2 separate regions of the Homo sapiens genome follow, and region 2 is linked to region 1. The links are contacts of gene promoters, found by promoter capture Hi-C in blood cells and fetal thymus (Javierre and others, 2016). All regions are on one chromosome and are shown on one strand. Each heading gives the region's core, a stretch centred on a gene start or on the middle of the fragment in contact. The rest is flanking DNA. Distances are from core to core; before and after follow the strand shown. Region 1 holds the start of MAP2 (microtubule associated protein 2). Region 2 has its middle 91 kb from the start of MAP2.

The links. Contacts are between HindIII fragments. The CHiCAGO score rates a contact against its expected background, and 5 or more counts as called.
Region 2: a fragment that was not itself captured here is called in contact with the fragment with the promoter of MAP2 in region 1 in 2 of 17 cell types (megakaryocytes and endothelial precursors); the score reaches 8.6 in megakaryocytes.

The regions. Positions count from the first base shown.
Region 1 is chr2:209,421,745-209,428,368 of GRCh38, forward strand. It overlaps MAP2 (microtubule associated protein 2), which reads left to right and starts at 2,303. Exons shown (of 16, transcript NM_001375505.1): 1 at 2,303-2,532. RefSeq lists a silencer at 1,984-2,373. The HindIII fragment of the contact is 4,087 bases long and covers 1-3,468 here.
Region 2 is chr2:209,329,460-209,336,083 of GRCh38, forward strand. No RefSeq gene overlaps it. Among named protein-coding and RNA genes, the nearest start is that of MAP2, 91 kb to the right of the region's middle. The HindIII fragment of the contact is 4,057 bases long and covers 607-4,663 here.

The sequences.
Region 1 (6,624 bases), core at 1,053-3,552:
CTTTTGGAGGACCCTCCAGCATTATCTGTCTCCCAGTAAGCATCTCCACTGTGGTCTCAGTTCCTTTAATGTAGCTTGTGCTCCTCATTCCTGGTAAAGCCTCCTCTCTAGCACTCCCCAGCCTGAGAGTGGTAGTACTTTCCTGCTAGTAACTATCATCGTGTTGCCTCATCATCCCCTAGTTGGCTTTTTAGTCATTTGAATCCTTTGTAATTTGTTCCCCATATTAAATTCTCTCTATTGAATTACAACATATAGATGCTATTTTTCTGAAAGAACTCTAAGATGTGTGTCGAGAGGAGGCAATCTCCCATATAAGGACCAGGTTCCCCAAAGAGAAAAGCCATTAGAGTTTGGCTGCCTCAGCTAATCTTAAAGTGGAGGAAAAAACAAACAAACAAACAAACAAACAAAAACAAAAAGTGCTGAGGAACACTGTACTTTAAACTATCAGAGAAATAATGTCTTTTTTATTGCTGTTTTTTAGAGACAGGGTCTCACTCTGTCACCCAGGCTGGAGTGCAGTGGTGTAATCATAACTCACTGCACCCTCAAACTTCTGGCTTCAAGCGATACTCCCTCCTGAGCTGCTGGGATTACAGGTGTGAGCCACCGCTCCTGGCCCTGGAAAATTACTCTCATTGAGCACCTGCGCCTGCATGCCTGGTCATGAATGTCAGCTGCTAACACTCTGGTAGCATGCCTACTCCTTCCTCCCATCCACATACTGTCTATGATTTCCTAGTCTCCTAAGACCTCCTTCTCAGTAAGGCCATCTTCCGAGGAGGAGCATCAACTCCTCCAACCTCCCAGCTCCTGGGTGTGCCTTGATACTTCCAAACTCACTGCAAGCGTCACTGGCACATGGTATGAAGCAGAGCGGGGGAGGCAGGACACAGAGCACTGGGTGTGACTGGGGAGGGCAGGCTTTCACAGCTTCCTCTGTGATGGTTTCTAATCCTTGCAGGCTCCCACCATTGGGTCTCTTTCCATCTGAAAATGGAGGAAATTAGACCAGCTGCCTAAAACATCAACTCTAATGTTCTAGGTTCTAAGATTCTGTGGTTAATTTAAGTGACAGAACCACATTATGGCTGCTGTTTCATCAGCACTGTGAAGACTGTACAAGCCACACCTCAGTATGTTGGCTGACCTTAAAAACACCTTGTCAGTACTTGATATAGACACTCGAAGTAATTCTAAGTTGCATCTTACTTTTCTTACTTACAATAAAATGCTGCTCTCTGATTATGAAGATTCATACTCCTTAGTACGAATGGTAAAGAATCATTTGTTTTCTCAGGTGGTCATTTCACTTTCAAAAGCATTTAAGAGGCAATTTTTTTAAGGGTGATATTTCAAGGTCAACACTTTCCGTGCTTTCTAATTCATTGTATTTGTATCATTCTTCAAAGATCCTTCATATTCATTATCTTTTTAAGCATAAGAGAATTGGGCTGTCATTTTTAGTTCTCATATGACACATGAATACACTGAGAGTTAGATTAAGTGAACTGTCTCTAGAGCATACGTCTGGCTATCTAGAATGTAATAACTATAAAGGGAGGGGATCTTTCTTATTAGGGTTGTGGGAAAGGTCTGTCACTGATGTTTCTAATGCTTAGAAGAGTGCCTGACACATAGTAGGTGTCAATAAACATTCGTTGACTCAATAAATGAATGAATCTAATTCGTGACAGAGCTGGGTCTAGAATTCTCTACTCCCTCAGCCATTGCTCCTTTAGTGCTGACAAGAGTTGTTCTATGTTCTCAAGCGCCCCACATTCCTTTGTCTTTTCTGGATGCACCTGTGGTTGGGTTTGTGAGGCGAGGCCAGTGAGCTTTCCTGGTGAGGTGCCACTGGCAACCCCGCCTCATAGCGACACAGGGGAGGGAAGCAGGGGGTCTGCGGAGGTTGCTCCCGAGAGACTAAAGCTGTTGCCCCCGATTTTCCAAGGACGCCAGTGAGGAAGGCCCGCCTGTCCCGCCGCCCGGGCACTGGCCTCACTTTGTCGCGGGAGGGGACCAGGGCTCTGGAGAAGGCCCGGGCCAGCGGCTGGGCGGGGCTCTCCGAGGCTCCCACCTCGCGGTCCCCGCCTGGCGGCCGGCGGCTGCGGCAGAAGGCGAAGCGGTCGTGCTCCCCCTCCCGGACACTGCGGCGGTGGCAGCGCCAGCCCCGCCGCGGCCGCCCACGGGCTCGCGGAGTCTGGCGGGACCTGCGCGGGGCGGGACCTGCGCGGGGCGGGGAGGAGGGGCCGAGGCGGAGCTGCTGCGCTGGGAGCCGGCTGGGGGCGCCGCTCTCAGTCTGGGGCGGGCGCTCGGGCTGCGCGGGCTCTGGGCAGCAGCAGCAGCAGCAGCAGCATCCTCTCTTCCTTTACTTCCCTTCCGCTTCTTTCTCTTCCTTCTCCTTCTTTTTCCCCCCCCTCCCCTTCTTCCCCTAACCCTTCTACCCCTCTCCTTTTTCTCCGGAGGGCGCTAAGTCCGTGAGCGGTGGCAGTCGCGACCGCGGGTGCATCCAGTTTCTGCGCCCAGGTAAGAGACCGTCCCCACCTCTGGCTCTATGTAGGGCGCCTCTCCTTTTGCCTCGGTCTCTGAGTAGAAAGAGATAGGAATGGGGAGGGGTTGTGTCTCGTCCTCTGGGACTCGCAGCAGGCAGTCTGGTAGTTGGTCGAGTGGCCAGCCGTGCACCTGGCGGAAGATTCGGGCCTGTCCTCTCCAGGTGTCACTGCGGAGCAGGGGGCCGGACGCTACTGGTACCTGAGCCCTGGCTTCGTAGAAGAGCGAGTGAGCTTGTTAGGTACCACTTTGAAACAACTGAAAACTTACGCCAGGTTAGAATACGTGTATCGAAAGCCAGTATTACCTGCGCTGTGGAAAGAAGGGGAGTGGATTCTACAAAGATAGTGGAAAATAGGAAATCGAGGTAGGGGATTTTTTTGTTCATCCAGCTGCAGAGAACTGCACACTGGGAAGTGAGTGAGTGAGGGAAGCCTTGTCCATTTCAAATCATGTTTCTCTGTAATTCCTTCAGAAACAGCTGGGAGAGGAGGACTGATATTTATAATTGTAGGAAAATGAAAAATAAATGCCTGGTGGTGTTGGAGGGCGGGGCACGAAGAAATGAGTCTGGTTAGGCTTCCACACAGTCGTTTTTCTTTTTAAACGTTGGGGGTGGACCTCTGAATCTACAGTGCATCTATTCTTTTCTTCCTTTTCTTTTTAAAAGGCTTTTTTGGTGGGGAGAGGAGGACTGCAGTGCTGGCTGCCTGCCTTCCCCCACCTCGTCTTTTGTTTAAGGATGGAAATTTCAAGAAAGAGTGTGTGGGGGGCTAGGAGTGGGGAGCTGTATATTTGGGTGTGTATAGGGGGAGGGGTATGGATGGAGTCAGAAAAAAAATCCTTGAAAACTGGAAATTAATGTTATTCTGCCTGGCATCCGGACTTCAGGATTTTTGTCAGAAAATAAAAAGCTTTCATTAGCAACAAGCCCGTTTGTGACAATTGCTGTGTGCCATCTGTCGTAAGCTCTTAGCACAATGCTTCCAGGACATAGACGCTTTAAAATTGAGTCCGGTGTAAAGGGTTTTTGTTTAAATGCCTAAACACACAAGTATGCACACAAATGTATAATACACTATATACATGTTACAAAAGGAAATAGGTACTTAAGAGACTGATTTTTTAAAATTGTATTTGAGGGTTTGGAAATTATGTTGTGAATAAAATCTGTAGTGCAAAACAAAAAAATATTGTTGGGTGGTATATAATTTTGGGTGTGAGGCAAAGGGATTGATGACTGTTGGTAAGGAACTAATTTAAATGTTAAAGGTATAATTTATTTTAAAATGATCAGTCTAGAAAAGGAAATGATTGCAAACTGAAATTGAGGTTTGCAGCCACAGTGAGGCGATGGAGAACAAAGCCTTCTATGTGAGCCACATTATGCAAAATGTCCCATGCATGAGCTGCAGGTACCAGCCCAGTTCAAAAGCATAGTTCTTTCACTATGTCATTTCACTGTGGACAATTATGATTTTTTTTGGCAGTCAAATAGATTGAATAAATAGAAGCCCTTTAGAATGCTTTTAATTTTATGCCCAGGGAAAAGATTACAGCCTTCCATCAGAATATAACACAAAGCAGCCCTTTAACCGGGCAATAGGTGTATTTTGGTAGAAATCCTTGTGAATTTGCAAATCATGGATGTTCCAAAAGCCCCAGCCCCATGCACACAAAGAACCCTTCCTTCAAGAAAAAAGGCATTTTTCTCATTCAGTAAGGATTATTATATTTGTGTGTGTATGTTTATGTTGATTTCCTGGTAATTTCATCTGATTATCATAGGTGTACATCTGCATTCATGATTTGTATATTATCAGAGCCATTGTGGCTTTAGGATCAGTGGTACATGCTGTTTATCTGTGGTTTATTTAATTTTAATTTTTCATATTTTACAGTTTGCTACAATATTATTTAATGTCCAAAGTTTTCTTTTTTAAAACCATAAGTAGAAAATTGCTTAACACACATCTGAAGATCTAAGTAATTTAAAAATAGAGCTACCTTTTATAAAATAATATTTTAGTTATATTAATTTTTATTTTATTTATCTCCTCTCTTATTTTTTTCCCTTTTCTAATCAAATAACCTGTTTCTTTATGGCTGCTTTAGTCTTCTATACTGCCATAGGAGGGCCAGTGTTTTCAAGAATTTTGAATTTAGGATTGTTCATTCTCTGCAGCACCTCTCAGGATGACTTGTTTACAGCACCTTCTCAGGGAGGAGACAGGGAAAGAATGTGCTGAAAGAGCATGACCCAGTGAAACTGGCACAGCCATTACCTCATCCTAGTAGGTACTTCAGATTCATTGAGAGAGCAGGCATCCTCTCAGTGGAAACCAAACACCAGGAGCACACCCATCTCAGGGCAAAAGCCTTTCTCTTCCCATAGCAGCCTTTACTAATGTCATTCCACTGAGGTTAAAGGGATATTTTCTCTTTTATGTATTCCTTTTCAGGGATCTTGAACTTGGTTAGAAATATGTAGCCAGAAATGAAACTTGGCACAGAATCCTCTAAGCCTGAAGGAATAATTTCATTCCTTTACCCCTTTTGGTTTAAACCAGTTCGCAAATTTTCTAAACATCAGAAGGGAAAAGGAAGAAAAATGTTGGTGTATTTTTGTGTATTTTCTTATCACACACACATATTTTGTATTGAATTTTACTAGCAGTTAGACAACAGACTGGACATGCTATTAACAAATGTAGTTGCACTGTTGGCATTTTAAAAAATCATTATTACATTTGCTTATAGGACAATAGGTGCATCCTTCAGTGATTCATTGATGTCCTTTTGAGACTGACCATATGAAACTGACATGGGGATTTTAGTATTCAAGTTGGTAACTCTGATTATTGAATCCTTTCAATACTTAATTTCCTCTTAACAGATTAAGATAAAGAATCTGAAATAATAGTTACAGTAGAAGATAGCACCACCCCCAGATCAATACTATCCTCCTTAATGCTAAAAGTAGTCACTTTAGGTAAGTCATTAGTAAATGCATGAACCTGAAGATAACAGTTTTGAAACAATCTCAAATTTTTTTGTCTCTGTTATAGATTAGTTAAAGATGCTAATAAACTCTTTGAGTCATATCTGATTCTCTCAGATATATCAAGTGTTTTTGCTACTTTAATTATCTCTTTACTATTGCCATTACCTTTATCTACTCAATCTAGACCTTTTCATGTAAGGACTGTATTTTGATCATTTCACCATATTTTCCCTCCCTTCACATCATTCTTTTTAATTCGACATTTGGATGTTAGACTTACTGTTCTCTAGCTATTTTGGTTTCAGTAATGTTACTCTCTTGATACAAATTTGGCCTTTATTTTTCATTAAGGAGAGCACTTATTACCATTTATGTATTTATTTATTCATTATGAGAAACAACTTTTGATATTCTCAGTTTTCAATTGCAGAAAATGATTCTAGGCACCAAAAGCAGTTAAAAGTCTGCAAATTAATATGTAGTACACAAAAGGCCAAAGTCAAGGGAGACAGTCTGTATGAAGGTTTGGGTGGGTGGGTAGGTGGGTGGGCGTAGAGGAAGATGTGGAATGAAAGCAAATTCTCAGCTATTAAAAGCTGTCCATGTAGGGTAGAGATGAGCCTTTTTGTCTAAGAGGGTGAAGAAGGAATAAATGTTTTGTTTTTCTGTTTCAACATATTTTGTCCCCATCCCTCCCCTGTCATGTCTTTGAACTAAGGCCATGGTGCTTCCTTATAAAAATTATACAGTATGTTTATTGGAAGGAGTTTTACAGTGAATTAGGTGAATTCAGAATTTTAAAATGATGTGAACACAATTAGATGAATTTTTATGAAAAACACTTTGAATCTAATCTTTGATCTTTCCTGTTCAAGACATAAGCTTTCCTTTGAATGGTAGTACTTTAACTGTAATACATTTTACTTAAACATTTCAGTAAAATTCTATGGAAAGTTAGACAAAATAAAGAGCTCAGGATCCTCTTTCAGTCTACTGTTAAGTTTATATTGTGGAAGTTGGGGAAAGTTTTAGACAGTTTGTTTTCCGTTAAAACACACACTAGA
Region 2 (6,624 bases), core at 1,385-3,884, 92 kb before region 1:
GTCTCTTCCAGCTTTTGGTTTTTAATGAATTTATAATAACAGAGCATTAACTCTGAAAATACAATCTCAAGAAGATTTCATTAGTAGTAATATTGGAGAAAATTTATGATAGATATATAATTTTAATTTTCTTATAAAGTATTAATTGAAAAGCAGTGTTAGTCTGGATTTGCAGTTTTTACTTCTCAAAATTTAAACCCCATAGTGTTGGCAGACTAACAAAATAATTAGTGTCACATAACTCAGGGGCATTAGTGAAGTCATTAACTGTGTAATGTCTTTTGCATTTCTACGTTGAAAAAAATGTGTCCAAATATATTTTATTGTGTTTTTTGCCACTTCATTGTCATGAATAGAAAGTTATAGTTTCATAATAAATTAGTTTATCTTGTCCTTTTTGATAAATTAGTTCAAAATTATACTTTATGTTCTAAAAAAAGAAAAACCACAGCACAGATTTATCATTAGCTCTGGTTAAAATTTAACTGCAATATAATGAAATGAAATGTTGCTTAATAAATTATTCATTGAAAGGGAGTTTATTTTAAAAACATATTTTTTCTCATAGGAATCTCTGATTGGAAAATAAAAACTACATTAGCTGTAAGCTTACTCTGATATTTAAAGGTTTGCATAGTAAAAAGCCTTCAGCTTCTCCCTGTTCTGTCTAGAAAAGTATAAGTTTAAAGTATACCAAGTACAGTCCAAGAGTCAGAACAATGAAAAATAAAATACTTTATTAAGCCTCTATTGACTTAAGTGATCTAAAGGTTTTCATTATTAGGTTAAAGGGTATAGATTACACCAAATTCAAATGCTTTAAGCAAATATTAGCTATCAGGTATCCTTAAAATCAATTGTCATTAGGTAAGAAATAAAGAATCACATCAGATAAGATATTCATTGTAGACTAACTTGTGCAATTTTAGAAAATTAATTTATTCTGCTTTGGTTTGATTTGTAAAATAACAGAGAGACTTCTAGCCCTAAAGTTTACTGGTCCTATGATGATGGGCATTATGTTTCCTTTAAAAGTTTCTCTTTACATCAACTCTTGATTAAACATTATGTAGCTCATACTATTTAATCATTATTTTATTTGTTTAGTCCTACTCCCATGAGAACCCATTAAAATGATGGTAAATACATTTTAAAGGAATAAATTACCATAAAAATGAGAATGAATGGGAAACACCGGGAGAATACCAATCAAGCACATTAGAAGACCTTGACAATGAGATTTAAAAATGGTCTCAGGATAAAATAGGACAATCCACTTGTACCTAATGCTAGGAATATTTTCCATCTAATGGCACAGATATGTGTCATTGCCTTGGTAGAAAAGGTAATGCAACCATGGCACATGACTCTTCTTTGAAATAAGCAGTATTTTTATACTCATAGTGATATAAACTCAGGCTTTGGTTTTTAATTATTAGGTTAAAATTATAAGCAAAATCTGCAGTACTTAATTATCATAAAATAGAATACAAATTTTTCTCAACTTTGAAAAAACTGACAGAAATGAGAGCATAGTGAGGGTAAGACGAGATGATGAAGGGAAGGGGAACATTAGTATTCTCATTATATAAGTGAGAAGTAAAGAATTAGAGGTTTTGCATGTTTGGAGTTGCAGAAGTGATCAGCTAAGACATAGAGAGTGGTGATAACTGAGTAATAGATGGAGAAGCTGAAATTTAAATAAATTTAAGGTTGATATAGTTTTAAAAGTGTCGTAGGTATAGTCCTTAGAGCTATCAGAACAACCACAAAGAAACCTAACATTGATTTTTGCTTTGCTTTGGTTTGATTTTTTAAAATAATGAATCTGGTGTGGGAAAGAGGCAGGACACAGAGTTTTATATTTGATAAAACTGTAATTCAAATATGTATGTGAACCATGTCTTTTTGTCTTTTAAGTACCATATCTTAGATAGATGTTTAGTTGGATTCAGCTTTAAAAAATCACTGTATTTCCATCTTATCTCCAGACCTAAATAGACATCATAACCCAGGTTACCACTGCCATCAAGTGGTGCCTTAGTGGCATTAAGTTGTAGAAAACCTTAAGTAACCAAAACAATCAAATCTATTTGAATGAAGAGAAATACTGTAACTTGCCTTCAGTTTGAATGGTGCCCGAATTACAATATCTAGAAATCTAAGAATAACACTTACCCAAGAGCCTAAAACCATAGGACTTGCTCATGCTAAATGATCCTATTTTGTTCAGATTAACTTTGTTAACATAGAAAGCTGAATGTGAGAAATAATGATCTGATTAATATTAATCCTAATGGTAATATCTTGATTTAAATAATACTTTTTGTTTTTACAAATTTTCAAAGTTGAACAGTTAAACATATATATCCTGGAACCAGATTGCCCCACATGGATGGCTTCAAAACTTACAAAATGTATAATCTTTGGCAATTTATTAAAATTCTCTGTAGCTCAGTTTCCTTCTTTGGAAAATTGAAAAAAATACTACTCCTTACCTTGAATTATTATTGTAAAAGTCCATAAGTTAACATATGTGAAGAGCTTAGAACCATGCCCAGGAAAAGTGTCAGGTGTTTTTATATGAATCTCTAATTTAGCCTTTAAAAAAAATTTTTTGGGGGGGTTTATTTAAAGTGTGTTTTTTTTTATTTTTTAAATTATTATTATACTTTAAGTTTTAGGGTACATGTGCACAATGTGCAGGTTAGTTACATATGTATACATGTGCCATGCTGTTGTGCTGCACCCATTAACTTGTCATTTAGCATTAGGTATATCTCCTAATGCCATCCCTCCCCCCTCCCCCCACCCCACAACAGTCCCCAGAGTGTGATGTTCCCCTTCCTGTGTCCATGTCTTCTCATTGTTCAATTCCCATCTATGAGTGAGAACATGTGGTGTTTGGTTTTTTGTCCTTGCAATAGTTTACTGAGAATGATGATTTCCAATTTCATCCATATCCCTACAAAGGACATGAACTCATCATTTTTTATGGCTGCATAGTATTCCATGGTGTATATGTGCCACATTTTCTTAATCCAGTCTATCATTGTTGGACATTTGGGTTGGTTCCAAGTCTTTGCTATTGTGAATAGTGCCACAATAAACATACGTGTGCATGTGTCTTTATAGCAGCATGATTTATAGTCCTTTGGGTATATACCCAGTAATGGGATGGCTGGGTCAAATGGTATTTCTAGTTCTAGATCCCTGAGGAATCGCCACACTGACTTCCACAATGGTTGAACTAGTTTACAGTCCCACCAACAGTGTCAAAGTGTTCCTATTTCTCCACATCCTCTCCAGCACCTGTTGTTTCCTGACTTTTTAATGATTGCCATTCTAACTGGTGTGAGATGGTATCTCATTGTGGTTTTGATTTGCATTTCTCTGATGGCCAGTGATGATGAGCATTTTTTCATGTGTCTTTTGGCTGCATAAATGTCTTCTTTTGAGAAGTGTCTGTTCATATCCTTCGCCCACTTTTTGATGGGGTTGTTTGTTTTCTTCTTGTAAATTTGTTTGAGTTCATTGTAGATTCTGGATATTAGCCCTTTGTCAGATGAGTAGGTTGCGAAAATTTTCACAGAATTGGAAAAAACTACTTTAAAGTTCATATGGAACCAAAAAAGAGCCCGCATCGCCAAGTCAATCCTAAGCCAAAAGAACAAAGCTGGAGGCATCACGCTACCTGACTTCAAACTATACTACAAGGCTACAGTAACCAAAACAGCATGGTACTGGTACCAAAACAGAGATATAGATCAATGGAACAGAACAGAGCCCTCAGAAATAACGCCGCCTATCTACAACTATCTGATCTTTGACAAACCTGAGAAAAACAAGCAATGGGGAAAGGATTCCCTATTTAATAAATGGTGCTGGGAAAACTGGCTAGCCATATGTAGAAAGCTGAAACTGGATCCCTTCCTCACACCTTATACAAAAATTAATTCAAGATGGATTAAAGACTTAAACGTTAGACCTAAAACCATAAAAACTCTAGAAGAAAACCTAGGCATTACCATTCAGGACATAGGCATGGGCAAGGACTTCATGTCTAAAACACCAAAAGCAATGGCAACAAAAGCCAAAATTGACAAATGGGATCTAATTAAACTAAAGAGCTTCTGCACGCAAAAGAAACTACCGTCAGAGTGAACAGGCAACCTACAAAATGGGAGAAAAATTTTTTTTAAAAAACAAGTGAAGTTAGGACACTATGACTCTTCACTATTACTTATCATGTAAAAGATGAGAAAACAGAACTACAGATTGTCTCTTTACCATGGTAAAGTTAGGAGCTCCAAACTAATCTGTGTTACAAAATGTAAAAAACCAATAAAGGATTACTCTAAACAAAGACTGAAAACTTAGATTTCTGATGTAGAAAAATAATACATAATAATGACCACAAATGCGTTTTCCCTAATTACACTTGAAATATGCTTATATTTTGTGTTTTTTTCTATTTTGTACACATGATATATTTAATGAGGTATTTTAAATGAGGACTGAGTAAGCCCTTCCTCTGTGTTGCCTACGTTTTTCACACCCCCAACCATTCCACCCTCACCCTAGCTTGTTTTGTTCTCACATAAAACTTTAAAATTTGATTAAGTAAAAATAATTGCTTTCAGATGACCTATTATGTTCCATAAGCTTTACATAGTTTATTTCATTTGATCTTTACAATAAAACTTGTACTACTGCCATCTCCACTTCTGTCTCCCCATACTTTTTTAAAGAAATAATCATCTTGATGTAACTGAATAACTTAAGACATTGATATATGAGTGTTGCATTACAATTATATAACAACTATATAAAAAATTTAAATAAGCAACTGAAAGGCATAAATAAAACATACTCTTTGGTATTTTCAATTGTTCCTGTGACTGCTACCATATGAATAACCACTCTAGGCTGCTGAAGAATGAGACACGTCATCACCATCATCCCAGCTAACACCTATCCAACTGCTAGACACATGAATGAGGCTATTTAGGTGATTTTTACTCAATATTTCTATTATTTATGCCAATAAGAGTGACAGTACCCTGTAAAGAAGCTACTATGCAATGGGACCCAGAGTTCTTTTAGCGCTAAAACGACATTTTAACAGGTGAAACCTAAAGCTGTATAGCATCTATTTGACCTGTAGAGGGCACCAGCGGCCCAGACAGCAGAATTAATTGCATTTCATTCGGTTTAGACTTGGAAATAAAAACTCTCCTTGCCCTGCACACTCGCTGTGGATTGTCGATGCCAGTGAAAGCCAGCATTAACACTCCCCTGGAGATTTCAGCATGCCATCTCATGGCTGAGTTTCAGATGGGGCCTCAAATTCATATAATTTAGTTCTATTAAAAGCTTTGCAAATTATTAAGATTATTTTTTATCTTAATAAAAGATAAACAGTTTTTAGAAAATTAGGATACAATCCAAATTCTAAAAATTATTAAATCATTTGTAGTGTCATAATAGAAAAACACTCAGAATAGTGAAGCTTCATTATTCAGTCTAGCAAAAAACCTGTTCACCTGAATTAGCAAAAAAGTTCCAATTTTTCTGTAAATACATTTCTTCCTAATTAAGTTAATATCCCTTGATTCATTCAAGTTATTTCCTTAAAAAGGTATATTAAGTTTAAAAGCAAAACAGACCAAATGCATGGCCTTTGCTATCAAACCCCCCTAGCCCAAATCTCACCTCTGTCACTAGTTAGCTGGGTGTCAGAGGTCACTTCTCTTAGCCTCAGTTCCTTTATCTGTAAATAAGAAAAATAAAAATACTTGCTTTATATTATTGTGAAAATTAAATTAGACAATGTGTAAAAATGCTTAGCACAATGTAAGTGCATACAGTCTTGGCAAACAATGATTCCATTACTGAATAGGTACTATTAAGTTGTTATTAGCTTATTAATAGTTTTTGTATAGTGCTTGCTGCAAGGAAAATAATTTCTCTGACATGTCAATACACTAATATTTAAATTAATGTATACAGTTTCTAGGAAATCCTCAGCCACATTTACTTTTGTCTTGGAGATTCACTTTTAGTCAAAGAAGAAAATATTCTTAGGGCTAGTGAAGAGGGTAGCTACTAAAACACGCATTTTCAAACATATTTTTAGATATTAAATAGAAATTTGTTCCCTTGAAATTTTGGAAGCTTAATTCTTGCAATGTTATAAGTAATTAGGTGGCTATAAAGATAATTCATTAATTGAATATAAACAGCTTAATTTTTGTCTGAATTAGGCAAAAGTATGAATTGCAAAACTTTTATCAAGTTTGAAGAAATCTATTATTAAAATAAGAATATGGAACAAGAGGCATTTAGGCTTGAGTTCAAAGTAATAATCATGAAATGAGAAAAAGAAAGATATCCTATAATCACAAATGAAGATAAATCATACCTGTCAATAGTATTTATACATCAAGTTACAGATCATTAAAATAATAAAAGAAAACTGCAAGAAATATGAGTGGAAATAGATAGGGACACAATTAATCCTCACATGTGTAGGGATAAAATTAATCCTCAGATGTGTAGAATCCTCACATCTATAAGCTCAGACACGGAAGTATACAAAAAATACAGACTATAAATAAAAAA